Linked DNA regions of Homo sapiens: all the other regions are linked to region 2. Evidence: promoter capture Hi-C in 16 types of primary human blood cells and fetal thymus (Javierre and others, 2016). All regions are on one chromosome and are shown on one strand. Each heading gives the region's core, a stretch centred on a gene start or on the middle of the fragment in contact. The rest is flanking DNA. Distances are from core to core; before and after follow the strand shown. Region 1 overlaps PPM1E (protein phosphatase, Mg2+/Mn2+ dependent 1E). Region 2 holds the start of SEPTIN4 (septin 4). Region 3 overlaps PPM1E (protein phosphatase, Mg2+/Mn2+ dependent 1E). Region 4 overlaps TRIM37 (tripartite motif containing 37).

Region 1 (2,943 bases), core at 279-2,778, 440 kb before region 2:
CTTGTTTTAAATGTAAGTAAGGGATCTTCCATAAGGTTATTCCTAGGCCAAGCAAAAGGAGGTTCCCTAAAGCACAATAGAAAAAGTGTTCTTTACTAATTGCTGTTAAGATGACAGATGGGGCTGGGCGTGGTGTCTCACACCTGTAAATCCCAGCACTTGGGGAGGCCAAGGCAGGCAGATCACTTGAGGTCAGGTGTTCAAGACCAGTCTGGCCAACATGGCAAAACCCCGTCTCTACTAAAAACACAAAAGCCAGGCGTGGTGGCCGACGCCTGTAATCCCAGCATCCTGGGAGGCTGAGGCACAAGAATTGCTTGAACCTGGGAGGCAGAGGTTGCAGTGAGCCGAGATTGCACCACTGCACTCCAGCCAGGGTGACACAGCAGGACTCTTGTCTCAAAAAAGAAAAAAAAAAAAAAAAAAGACAGATGGAAACTTGCAATCAAAAAGAAAATGATGCACTTAGGGAGGCCGAGGTGGGAGGGTGGATCATCTGAGGTCAGGAGTTCGAGACCAGCCTGGCCAACATGGTGAAACCCCACCTCCACTAATAATAATAAAATGAGCTGGGTGTGGTGGCGGGCGCCTGTAATCCCAGCTACTTGGGAGATTGAGGCAGGAAAATCGCTTGAACCTGGGAGGCAGAGGTTGTGGTGAGCCAAGATCACGTCACTGCACTCCGGCCTGGGTGACAGAATGAAACTCCATCTCAAAAGAAGGAAAGGAAATGATGCACACTGACAGCAACAGGGGGCGGGTGTGGGGGGGAATGCTCAGTTATGCAGCTTGTCAGTACAGACAGTTGTTTCTGATAATTTGGTAACTTGGGTAAATTTCTATGATGTTCAAATGATTTTACTGTACCTAGTGGTTCCCTTCTGTCTTGCTGTGTGCTGCTCCTTCAGAAAGAGGTGTTCCTTTTGATCTAAGTAATACTATATTTTAGGGAATTTTTTCAAGTGTAACACTTACTAATCAAAATGTTCCTTTTCTGTCATTCCCTGCTTCAGTAAACCCCTTCAAATATGTCCTTCTTTCAAAACTTCACCTTTTTTTTCTCAATTGTTCATTTGGTTCTATATAAAGTCATGCCAAGGACTGAATGAATTTAGGGAATTAGGAGTTGAAGATTTTTGAAACTATGTAAAATTAATTGTAAAGGCCTTCTTTACTGGTAGGCAGGAGAACAGTGCAGTGTATTGACAAGGTTGACTCGTTTGGAAGGTCAGTTCCCTCCCTTCAGATGCAGGTGTCGTAAGTGACTTCCCTCCCCCACATTGTCCTTTTTGTCTCTGTCTCCTTTTACTCACTTATCAGCAGTCCTTGGGAGGCTTTCCACCACAGCTCATCTGATGATTTCCTTACTTTCTTCTAGCTTGAAACTCAAAGAGGCTAAGCGAAAGGGGAAAGCTTGGTTAGATGCAGAGTTCTAAGAATGAAGTAGTTGGGAGATTTGATGACCACCGCTTAGTCCTTGGCAGGTCGGGTTCCTCTTTTCTTTTAGGATTATAACACCACTCCCTCTCCTCGCAGTTCAGCTAATGAAGAGAACATGTATAAGGCTAAATACCTCTCTTCTGGGGTAAAATAATGTTACAGCAGCATTTAGCAAATCTTCTTTTTAAATGTTCCAAGCTTCCAAACTTAACGTCCATCTCAGGATTTTATTTTCCAGTTCTGAAGAAATCTGCACAAATTTAAACAGTAAATAACTTACCTTTCCTTTAAATAAAAAGACAAATGACTAGTGGTTTTTAAATTGCCAGGTTTTATTAAGATAATTGGCAAAATTTCAACATACACCTTACCTGAATGAACACTTTTAATAAAATATGAAGGATCACTCATGACTACAACTGAACTCAAAAGTGAGATGTAGAGCAGATTTGTAAATTGATAAATTTATTTGGTAAGAAATTATTCACTTCATTCGCTTCACTCCATAGAGAATTCTTTGCAGAGAAATGTTATGAACAAGAGAACAAAGCCTGTCTCTCACCAAAGAGCACCTAGAGTAAGAGTTTACAATGATGTATCTGGATTATCTAATTCATCAAAGTTTATTTCCTTTTCAAAAACAACTGCTGTGTCAGTCTGGAGTTCCCTATTTCATGTTTTCTAATTATTACAATAAATAGTCTTCAAAATAGAAGATAAAATGCTGCTTTAAGAAGTAACAGTTATTTTTCAACACCATACCATTTGTCTGGAAAATCATTGTGTTGTAATACTGGTGGTATCTTACTTTGTTTTGCAAGAGACATTTAAGCTATTTGCAGATCAGAATAGAAGAGTGGGCATTTGTCCTTTAACATCACGTGATTTTCAAAGGTGAAAAAAATTTCTTTTGCTAACTTACGATTCAAAGAAAAATGGTCTCAAATTAAAGTGTGGACAAAACTGTAGTATTCCCTTTTATAGCCTTGCTTAGGTAAGAATGTTCACTGAGTGAATAAATTAGGTTTAAAAATTAAAACAATAATTTAGATCATTTTCCCACAAAGCCTTATCAAGGATTTGATGGGGAAGGAAGCACTTGAACCACAGCAGTTTTATCTGTAAACACTGAACTTGGCCATGCATCATTTTCATCTGCCCACTGGATGTTGCACTTCTCACTGGCACAGTGTTTCAACAGTGGAGTGTGGTTGTCATGAAAATGCAGTATTGACACTATACCACTATAAATGTGGTCAAAATTAGACTCAGTGTTGACATTGACATTGTTGCCATTGTCCTTGGAAAAGGTGTTACTTTCAAGGAGCCTCCTAAATGCAACAGTAACTTTAATCATAATAATTCAAGGACAATGGATGGCACTTCTAGGTAAAGAAAAGGTATATACATATGTGTTTCTACCCATCCTCTTTAGTACAGACCTAAATGGGATTAATAGCCCCAGTGTGTGTTGCTGTAATGTTGCCTAACCTCATGTCCCTC
Region 2 (3,309 bases), core at 580-3,079:
CGAGGTGGGTAGATTATCTGAGGTCAGGAGTTTGACACGAGCCTAACTAACATGGTGAAACCCCATCTCTACTAAAAAAAAGAAAATCAGCTAGGCATGGTGGTATGCGCCTGTAATCCCAGCTACTCGGGAGGCTGAGGCAGGAGAATCACTTGAACCCGGGAGGCAGAGGTTGCAGTGAGCCAAGATCACGCCACTGCACTGCAGCCTGGGCAACAGCCTGGGCACAGTTTATTTGAAACTCCATCTCAAATAAAAAAAAAAAAAGAAAAATGAAGCTGACCATCCTATAATCTCAATGACCCTTCAGAGTTCATAATAGAATTTTGGATATGGTAGAGTCTATGTCTAAAAGAGAGAATGAGAGAAAGAGCATGTGAAAGGGAGAGAAAGGTGACAGAGTCTCCTCCAAAATGGTCATCCAAATTGGAAAGTCACTTTTCAAGAGAGAACCGGAGTCCGGCTGATTGGATAGCTGACAGGATCATGAGAAAGGACATTAACATTTGTTGTGTGACACCCATGTACCAGGCAGTGGTTTCCAGGTGAAGAAACCAAGTCCCAGGGAAGGCAGGTAATTTCTCCTAGGTACACCTGTAGTCATTTATGATGGAAACCAATGATTAACTCCAAATTCCTTCTTTCTTTCTTTCTTTCTTTTTTTTTTTTTTTTTTGAGATGGAGTCTTGCTCTGTCACCCAGCCTGGAGTGCAGTGGCACGATCTCAGCTCACTGCAGCCTCCGCCTCCCAGGTTCCAGCGATTCTCGTGCCTCAGCCTCACGGGTAGCTGGGATTACAGGCACGCACCACCACGCCTGGCTAATATTTGTATTTTTAGTAGAGATGGGGTTTCACCATGTTGGCCAGGCTGGTCTCAAACTCCTGACCTCAGGTGATCCACCCGCCTCAGCCTCCCAAAGTGCTGGGATTACAGGTGTGAGCCACTGCACCCAGCCCAAATCCCTTTTATTTTGTTTTTATTTATATATATTTTTTGAGATGGAGTTTTGCTCTTGTCACCCAGGCTGGAGTAAAGTGGCACAATCTCAGCTCACTGCAACCTCCAACTCCCGGGTTCAAGCGATTCTCCTGCCTCAGCCTCCTGAGTAGCTGGGATTATAGGTGCCTGCCACTATGCCTGGCTAATTTTTTTGTATTTTTAGTAAAGACGGGGTTTTATCATGCTGGCCATGCTGGCCTCAAACTCCTGACCTCAGGCAATCCACCCGCCTCGGTCTCCCAAAGTGCTGGGATTACAGGCGTGAGCCACCGCACATGGCAAATCCCTTTTATTAATAAAACACTAAACTCTCCTGGAGCAAGAATGTGAGAATTTTATTATTTGAGCAACCTGGATTTTTACCCCAGGAGCAATGAAACAATCCATGAGACCTGGAAAAAGCTGAAGCTCTCTTTTTTTTTTTTTTTTTAACTTGTATACAGTACAGTTTCAAACAAAATTGGGGCAACTTTGTACTTCGTACCTTATTAAAACTGGGGCGAACACAGCGTGTTTGGTTTGATCTTGTCTTCATAGGATCTTCTGGCTGATTCCTTCTCTGGATGAGTCCTGAGAATTTCTAGAATCTCGGGAGAGTAAAGGAGGGTCTGGAGCCTTCTCTATGTACAAGGAAATCCCAGTTTTGTTAAAAACTTGCCAAAGGCTTGGTGATATAACTCCAAAGACAAATCCACAGATTCCTTTCAGGTACTTCTTTGGGATTCTGTGAAGAATTGTGGCTGTACACTAGGATGTTTAATAGGAAGGAAGCTCCTTCCTTTATGACATCACCAGACAGAGAGGTAGCTAAGGGGATTATTTGAGACACTCTTAGAACAACAGCCACTTTTGTGGGAGCCCAAGAAACAGCAGCTTTAAAACAGGGTAAATATTCAGGCATCATTAGGATCCTGAATACAAGCCAGCCAGTAAAATACGGGATCTACTCAGAAGGGCACAATCTATCAGATGGTCAAGACAAATAAACCTGGGGCCAAGGTAGCGGTTTCAGCACAGAGAGGGTCTGAGGTTACTACTAACACATCCCCTCAGCAGGGACATGGGTACGTTCTTGCCTCAAGCCATCGAAGTGCTGCAGTCTCCCTGAACCCTTCCCACCGAAGATCAGAAGCTGCACATCCCACCACTCCCCATTCAGCATCAGACTACCCTCGATCTGTCTCCCTCCAGTCAGGACCTGGACACTATGCAGTACCCACTCCTCGGGGACCCGAGACTGGACCAAGAACAGAATCATCCCGCCATTCCTCTCCCCATCTAAAGAGCCAGAAGACTCAGACACTGGCTTCCCATGCTTCAAGCAGACAATGGAAAGTTAGTCCACCCAGAGAGGAAGCAGCACGAAGAGGCAGTGAGAGCAAGTCAGGGCGCGAGGTCGGCCATCATGCTTCATCAATCCCAGATGCCAAATCTACTCATCAGTTGAGTTTTCAAGACCAGAAGAATAACTTACAATCACAAATCTTAGAAGATGACCCACCATCCAAGGTCCAGAACCCCCAAGGAGTCAGAGTTCCCCGTAGGATTTTGTCTTACCCAAAGGATGAAGCAGTACAAACTGAGCCCATCCAAAGAATTACGACTACTAGTGAGATCAGATCTCCAAGGAGTCCCTCTCTCCTAGAGCACGGAAGCAGCTGTGTCTCTGCAGACTATCAGACAGCCCAGAGAAGGGTCCCTGTAGAAGAATCAGAAACAGGTCCTTACGGTCCAATTCCTTCAAAACCCAAGGCCTTGTATAGGAATATGAACTTGGACTCATTGCTCAAACTCTCTGTCCTTAAAGATTCTGATGGTGTACACCGAGTTTCTGCACGGGTAGACCCTGAGTCTCTTCATAAGTATTCTGCCTATCCTGAAACCAAGCCCTCCGCAAAGGTCTTAGTATCATCACAGGTGGAGTCCAACGTGAGGACCCCAATCCGAGGAAACAGCGAGGTTGGCCGCAGGGTCACCATCTCCCCAGGGGTACAGTCAGTAGAGCCAACTCACCATGTGACAGTTCCATCAGTGTCTGAGGGCTCCCACAAGTCATCCATGTTTGTTACTCCAGAGCCCATCTATAAACAGCAAACCCAAAAACCCCCAGAAATTACTTACATGTCCCAAGGACCTACACCCAGGTATCCAGAACTCTCGCAAAAGCCCTCCATCCATGCAGAACTGGAACTGACCCCTAGGCCCTTGCCTCCTCGGTCCTTACCTAGGTACGGACCTGACTCCTCATGGTGGCCCTTGCTGAATCCTGAAGTTGAAACACCCCAAAGCCAGCTGACAACACCGGATT
Region 3 (3,022 bases), core at 519-3,018, 400 kb before region 2:
TCATCACCACTAGTCTAGTCCAAGAGAAATGTTCAAGGGCGTCTTACATCTGGAAATAAAAAGATGATAACTGCCCTCATGAAGATATGTGAAATTATAAAATTCACCAGGAGAGCCAACAGAGAAAGAAGAAAGAGAAAGGAATAAATAATCTTATCACTACAGAAAACAACCCAACCACAAAAATAAATAATAGGAGGGGAAGGAACAAAGGTTACACAAAATACTCAGAAAACAGTCAATAAATGTCTGGAGTAAGTCCTCATCTATTAATAATAATCTTGAATGTAAAATGGTTAAAATTCCCAATTAAAAGAAACTGGCTGAATGAATTTAAACAACAACAACAAAGCAAACAAACAAAAACAAAAACAAGACCCAACTATATGCTGTCTACAAGAAACTCACCTCATCTATAAGGATATACACAGACTGAAAGTGAAGGGATGGAAAGAGATATTCCACGCAAATGGAAACCAAAAGCAAGCAGGAAAAGCTATATTTATATCAGCTAAAACAGACTTTAAGTCGAAAGCTATAAAAAGAGACAAAGAAGGACATTATATAGTAATTAAGGAAACAATTCAAGAAGCTATAACAATTGTAAATATACATGCACCTAAGACCAGCACACCCAGATTCATAAAGAAAATACTATTAGATCTAAAGGAAGAGACAGATGCCAATACAATAACAGCTGGGGACTTCAACACCCAACTCAGCATTGCAGAAATCATCTAGGCAGAAAATCAACAAGGAAACATCAGATAAACCATAGCATAGCTCTAACAGACATTTACAGAACATTTCACCCAACAGCTGCAGAATATGCATTCTTTTTATTAGCAAATGGAACATTCTCCAGAATTGACTACATGTTAGGACACAGAACAAGGCTAAAAAAATTTTTTTAATTGAAGTCATATCAAGTATCTTATCTGACTATGGAATAAAACTAGAAACCAATAACAAGTGAAACATTCAAAATTACACAAATACATGGAAATTACACAACATGCTCCTAAACAACCAATGGGTGAAGAAAGAAATTAAGAAGGAAATTGACTAATTCCTTGAAACAAATGAAAACAGAAACACAACATACCAAAACCTATGGGACTCAGCCAAAGCAGTATATAATATGTCTCTGCAGTAAAAATATGTATGAAAATTGAAATTAAATTTTTAAAAACTTTCTGTGACCATAAGGCTCCAGCGTTAAACATTTTCTTTTTCATTGCCTTATCAGTGTAACTACTGGTACACAAATGATCTAATATAGTATACACTTTGATAAACATAAAAATTAAACTCTCATTGGAGAATTTTTTTTTAAAGGAAGAAACCTTACTTGCCAGATAAGAAATCTTATCTGCCATGGTCTTGGCCTCAATGAAATCTTGGACCTCAAGCTTCAGCCTAATACCATAATGGGATTAGACTTTGGGAAATCTTAGGGGATGTTGGGTGAGTGCATTTAGCACATGGGAAGGATGTGAATTGTGTGGCCAGAAAAGACTGTGGCAGATTATTTTTAAAAAGGCCGCAACAGCATTCCTGGTCCCGCATGCTATTTTAGAACTTTGCCATTCCCCATAAAAAAATAGAGTCTGTTTCCCTTCCTAATCTAAACATGGGTGAGGTGTGGTGACTACTCGGATGAAAAAAATGTAGCAAAAGTGATACTGTGTGACTTTTGAAGTTTGTTCATAAAAGGCCACGTGGCTTCCCCCGGCTTCCTCTTCTTTCTTCCTCTGTCTCCCTCTGGATACTTGCTCTTCATACTCAGCCAAGCCATCAAGCCATGAGGAAGCCCAAACTAGCCATGTGGAGAAACCACATGAACAGGCTCATGTGGATGTAGCCTGAGGTCTCCCAGGCAGTAGCCATTATCAATTGCTTGACATGTAAGTTCACAAGCCTTCAGATGATTCCAGTCCCCCAGCCTGAGTCTTCCAACAGAGACCCCAGTTGGAACAGAGATAAGGTGACCTTGCTTTACCCAGTTTTAATTTCTGACTGAAAGACATTGTGAGCATAATAAATAATTGTTTTATGCCACTAAGTTTTGTGGTAATTTGCAATACAGTGACAATAACTGAAAACCCAATATTTAGAAGCTTAGTAGAAGACAAGGGACCTATGAAGACTAAAGAGAAATGGCAAAATCTGTAAAAGGAGAACCGAGATAGTAGAGAGTATTTGAAGGAGGGAGCAGTGAACTCTGTCAATTGCTGAGAGGTCAAATAAGTGAAAAAAAAAAAAAAAAGGCCAGGTGCAGTGTCTCGTACCCGTAATCCCAGCCCCTTGGGAGGCCAAGGTGGGTGGATCACCTGAGACCAGGAATTCAAGACCAGCCTGGCTAACATGGTGAAACCCTGTCTCTACCAAAAATACAAAAACTAGCTGGGTGTGGTGGTGCACGCCTATAATCCCAGCTACTTGGGTGGCTGAGGCATGAGAATCGCCTGAACCCAAGAGGCAGAGGTTGCAGTGAGCTGAGATCACGTCACTGCACTCCAGCCTGGGTGATAAAGCAAGACTGTCTCAAAAAAAAAAAAAAAAAAAAAAAGGCCAGGAGTGTGGCTCACACTTGTAATCCCAACACTTTGGGAGACCGAGGTGGGCAGATCACACTCAAGCCTGGGCAACAGAGCAAGACTGTCTAAAAAAAAAAAAAAAAAAAAAAAAAAAACAGGAAAAAGGAAAATAACTTTCTGTTTAACAAAATGGTCAAATGGTGCTGGAAAAATTGGATATCCACATGCAAAATAATCAAGTTGGACCCCTTCCTTACACCATATACAAAAATTAATGCCAAATGCATCACAGACCTAAATGTAAAGCTAAAACTCATAAAACTCCTAAAAGAAAACTCCTAAAAGAGTAAATCTTCATGACCTTGGATTAGGCAATGGTTTTCTTAGCTCTGACACCAAAAGCACAAGCAGAAAAGAAAAAAAATATTAAATTGGACTACATCAAAATTTAAAACTTTTGTATCACAAATCAGTAAAGTGAA
Region 4 (2,949 bases), core at 184-2,683, 490 kb before region 2:
AATCTTATTTTATAGACCATATTAAATAAGGAGATAGCTTGAAACAAGAAATATTTATTGACTCAACTGGCTGTAGTCCTGGCTACTTGGGAGACTGTGGCCGTAGGATCACTTGAGCCTAGGAGTTCGAGGGTACAGTGAGCCATGATTCTGCCACCGTACTCCAGCCTGGGTGACAGAGCAAGACCCTGTCTCTTAAAACACACGCGTGCACACACACACACACACACACACACACACACACACACCCCCAGCAAATACAAACTAGATTTTTCCTACTCACTGGATTCAATGAGCCAATAATCTGGATTAGAATGATACTTAAAACCTTTTTAGCACAAATTTTTTTTAACATAAATTGTCTTTCATTTAACTTCAAATAACTGAATAAACTAAAAGCAGTTCTCATAAGAAGACGTCTGCAGATGCTACCACGCCCAACTAATTTTTTATAGAGACGGAGTCTTGCTCTCTTGCCCTGGCTGGTCTCCAACTCCTGGCCTCAATTAGTCCTCCTGCCTCAGCCTCCCAAAGTGTTGGGATTATAGGCGTGAGCTATTGCACCTGGACCACAGATGTTAGAAGAATGAATGAGCATAATTTTTAAATGAAAATCCAGCACTGATCATTACAAGATTTTGTGATGGTAAATATCGGTATGTAATTTGTAACAAAGTGAAGGATGTGAAAATGTAGAATATTCTGGAAAGGTAGTTTGAGACTAGACTATAATAGGGCCTTGAGTGTCATGATAATGCATACAGGCAGTATGCTGTAATGAACTCAAGTATATAAGTGTGACATTTTAGCAAGATCCATATGGCTTGGCACAAATGGAGAAGAACCTGTCACCGATCCGTCTGTCTTTTTATGAGGTTTTTTTTCTATGTGAACTTCAGAAGCATGGTTTTTGTTGTTTTTTTGTTTTTTTGGTTTTTTGTTTTTTTGTTTTTTTGAATCTCGCTCTGTTGCCCAAGCTGGAATGCAGTGGCACGATCTCAGCTCACTGCAACCTCTGCCTCCTGGGTTCAAGCAATTCTGCCTCAGCCTCCCGAGTAGCTGGGATTACAGGTGCCCTCCACCACGGCCAGCTAATTTTTGTATTTTTAGTAGAGACGGTTTCACCATTGTGGCCAGGCTGGTCTTGAACTCCTGACCTCGTAATCCACCTGCCTCGGCCTCTGAAAGTGCTGGGATTACAGGCGTGAACCACCGCGCCTGGCTGTATAGCTTTATTCTTAATAGCCAAAAGCTAGAAGCAACCCAAATTGTTTTCCAATAGAATAAAGAAATAAATTGGATATATTCATAAATGGATGCTGCACAATAATAATGAAAATGAGGCAGTGGCTCATGTCTCTAATCCCAGCACTTTGGGAGGCTGAGGCATGTGGATCACTTGAGGCCAGGAGTTCAAGACCAGCCTGGCCAACATGGCGAAACCTCATTTCTACTGAAAGTAGAAAAAATTAGCTTGGTGCAATGGCGCACGCTTGTAACCCCAGCTACTCGGGAGGCTGAGGCACAAGAATCATTTGAAACTGGGAGGTGGAAGTTGCGGTGAGCCAAGATTGTGCCACTGTACTCCAGCCTGGGTGACAAAGCAAGACTTTGTCTCAAAGAAAAAAAGAAAAATATTTAAAAAGAAAATGAATAAGATACTTCTATATACAGCCATATAGATGAATCTCATGAATAATGTTGACCAAAGAAGAAGAGCATAAGAGCATACTCTGTTACTACTTTTATACAAATACAAAACAGGCAAAACCCATCTGTAATTTAAGTTAGGATGAAGGTTATTTTTGTAGAGTAGGAGTAGTGAGCAATTTTAGGAGGCATAGGAGGGGGTTCTGGGGTACTGATAATATATTTCTTCATCTGGGTGTGATCACTTTGTGAGCATTCATTGGGATGTACATTTATATATGAGACACACAGAATAGCTTGGAAAGAGAGAAACTGAAATCAGTGCCAACCCAAAGTCTTTGATGCCTGTGGGGAAATGTGATAGTGGGTAGAAAGGTGGGAACATAGGCCGGGCACCATGGCTCCTGCCTGTAATCCCAGCACTTTCGGAGGCTGAGGCGGGCCAATCACCTGAGGTCGGGAGTTCTAAGGCCAGCCTAACCAACATGGAGAAACCCCGTCTCTACTAAAAATACAAAATTAGCCAGGCATGGTGCTGCATGCCTGTAATCCCAGCTACTAGGGAGGCTGAGGCAGGAGAATTGCTTGAACCTGGGAGGCAAGACTCCGTCTCAAAAAAACAAAAAAGAAAAGAAAGCTGGGAACATTTGAAAGGGGAGTAGCCAAAGGTCATACCCACATTAAAAAAAAAAGCAGTTTTTGTTCAGTAGTGAGAATAATGGCCTGAAAAAGCAGTGAGAAACAGGAGACACCGCTTTCTCTACTGTAAGTGCCTTTAACATGGAAGAATGAGCAACTTACATTTTTAAAGGAGAATCAGATATTAGGGCAATAGATTCCATTCACTGGGCTACTGGACTTAACTATACATAAGAACGATCTGAGTAGCTTTTTGGGAAAAAGTCCTGGATCTCACCTCCGTATCCTTTTTTTTTTTTTGAGATGGAGTCTCACTCTGTCAACCAGACTAGAGTGCAGTGGTGTGATCTTGGCTCACTGTAACCTCTGCCTCCCAGGTTCAAGCAATTCTCCTGCCTCAGCCTCCCGAGTAGCTGGGATTACAGGTGCCTGCCACCACACCTGGCTATTCTTTTGTATTTTGGTTTCACCATGTTGGCAAGGCTGGTCTCTAACTCTTGACCTCAGGTGATCTGCACACCTTGGCCTCCCAAAGTGCTGGGATAACAGGCGTGAGCCACTGCACCCAGCTTCTCACCCCAGTATTCTTGTTCAGTGTATCTAGGATGTAATTTTAAAAACTCCTTCAGCTGACTGACATACAACCCAATTTGGGAATTC

The links. The method cuts DNA at HindIII sites, captures the fragments that hold promoters and counts their contacts. A CHiCAGO score of 5 or more calls a contact.
Region 1: a contact is called between a fragment that was not itself captured here and the fragment with the promoter of SEPTIN4 in region 2, in 7 of 17 cell types (naive CD4 T cells, total CD4 T cells, naive CD8 T cells and 4 more). The highest score is 7.8, in naive CD4 T cells.
Region 3: a contact is called between a fragment that was not itself captured here and the fragment with the promoter of SEPTIN4 in region 2, in 1 of 17 cell types (endothelial precursors). The highest score is 5.2, in endothelial precursors.
Region 4: a fragment that was not itself captured here is called in contact with the fragment with the promoter of SEPTIN4 in region 2 in 2 of 17 cell types (total CD4 T cells and total CD8 T cells); the score reaches 5.9 in total CD4 T cells.

Annotation. Positions count from the first base shown.
Region 1 is chr17:58,983,988-58,986,930 of GRCh38, reverse strand. It overlaps PPM1E (protein phosphatase, Mg2+/Mn2+ dependent 1E), which reads right to left. Exons shown (of 7, transcript NM_014906.5): 7 at 1,752-2,943. It also overlaps a transcript of TRIM37 not described here. Among named protein-coding and RNA genes, the nearest start is that of TRIM37, 120 kb to the left of the region's middle. The HindIII fragment of the contact is 225 bases long and covers 1,416-1,640 here.
Region 2 is chr17:58,542,848-58,546,156 of GRCh38, reverse strand. SEPTIN4 (septin 4) reads left to right here and starts at 1,829. Exons shown (of 14, transcript NM_001368771.2): 1 at 1,829-3,309. The coding sequence starts at 1,971. It overlaps SEPTIN4-AS1 (SEPTIN4 antisense RNA 1), which reads right to left. Exons shown (of 5, transcript NR_110810.1): 3 at 2,559-2,700; 4 at 1,486-1,621. The HindIII fragment of the contact is 11,159 bases long and covers 1-3,309 here.
Region 3 is chr17:58,946,784-58,949,805 of GRCh38, reverse strand. The region is part of intron 1 of PPM1E (protein phosphatase, Mg2+/Mn2+ dependent 1E); the gene reads right to left. Among named protein-coding and RNA genes, the nearest start is that of TRIM37, 160 kb to the left of the region's middle. The HindIII fragment of the contact is 708 bases long and covers 1,415-2,122 here.
Region 4 is chr17:59,033,747-59,036,695 of GRCh38, reverse strand. All of the region lies in intron 17 of TRIM37 (tripartite motif containing 37), which reads left to right. Among named protein-coding and RNA genes, the nearest start is that of TRIM37, 72 kb to the left of the region's middle. The HindIII fragment of the contact is 4,005 bases long and covers 1-2,949 here.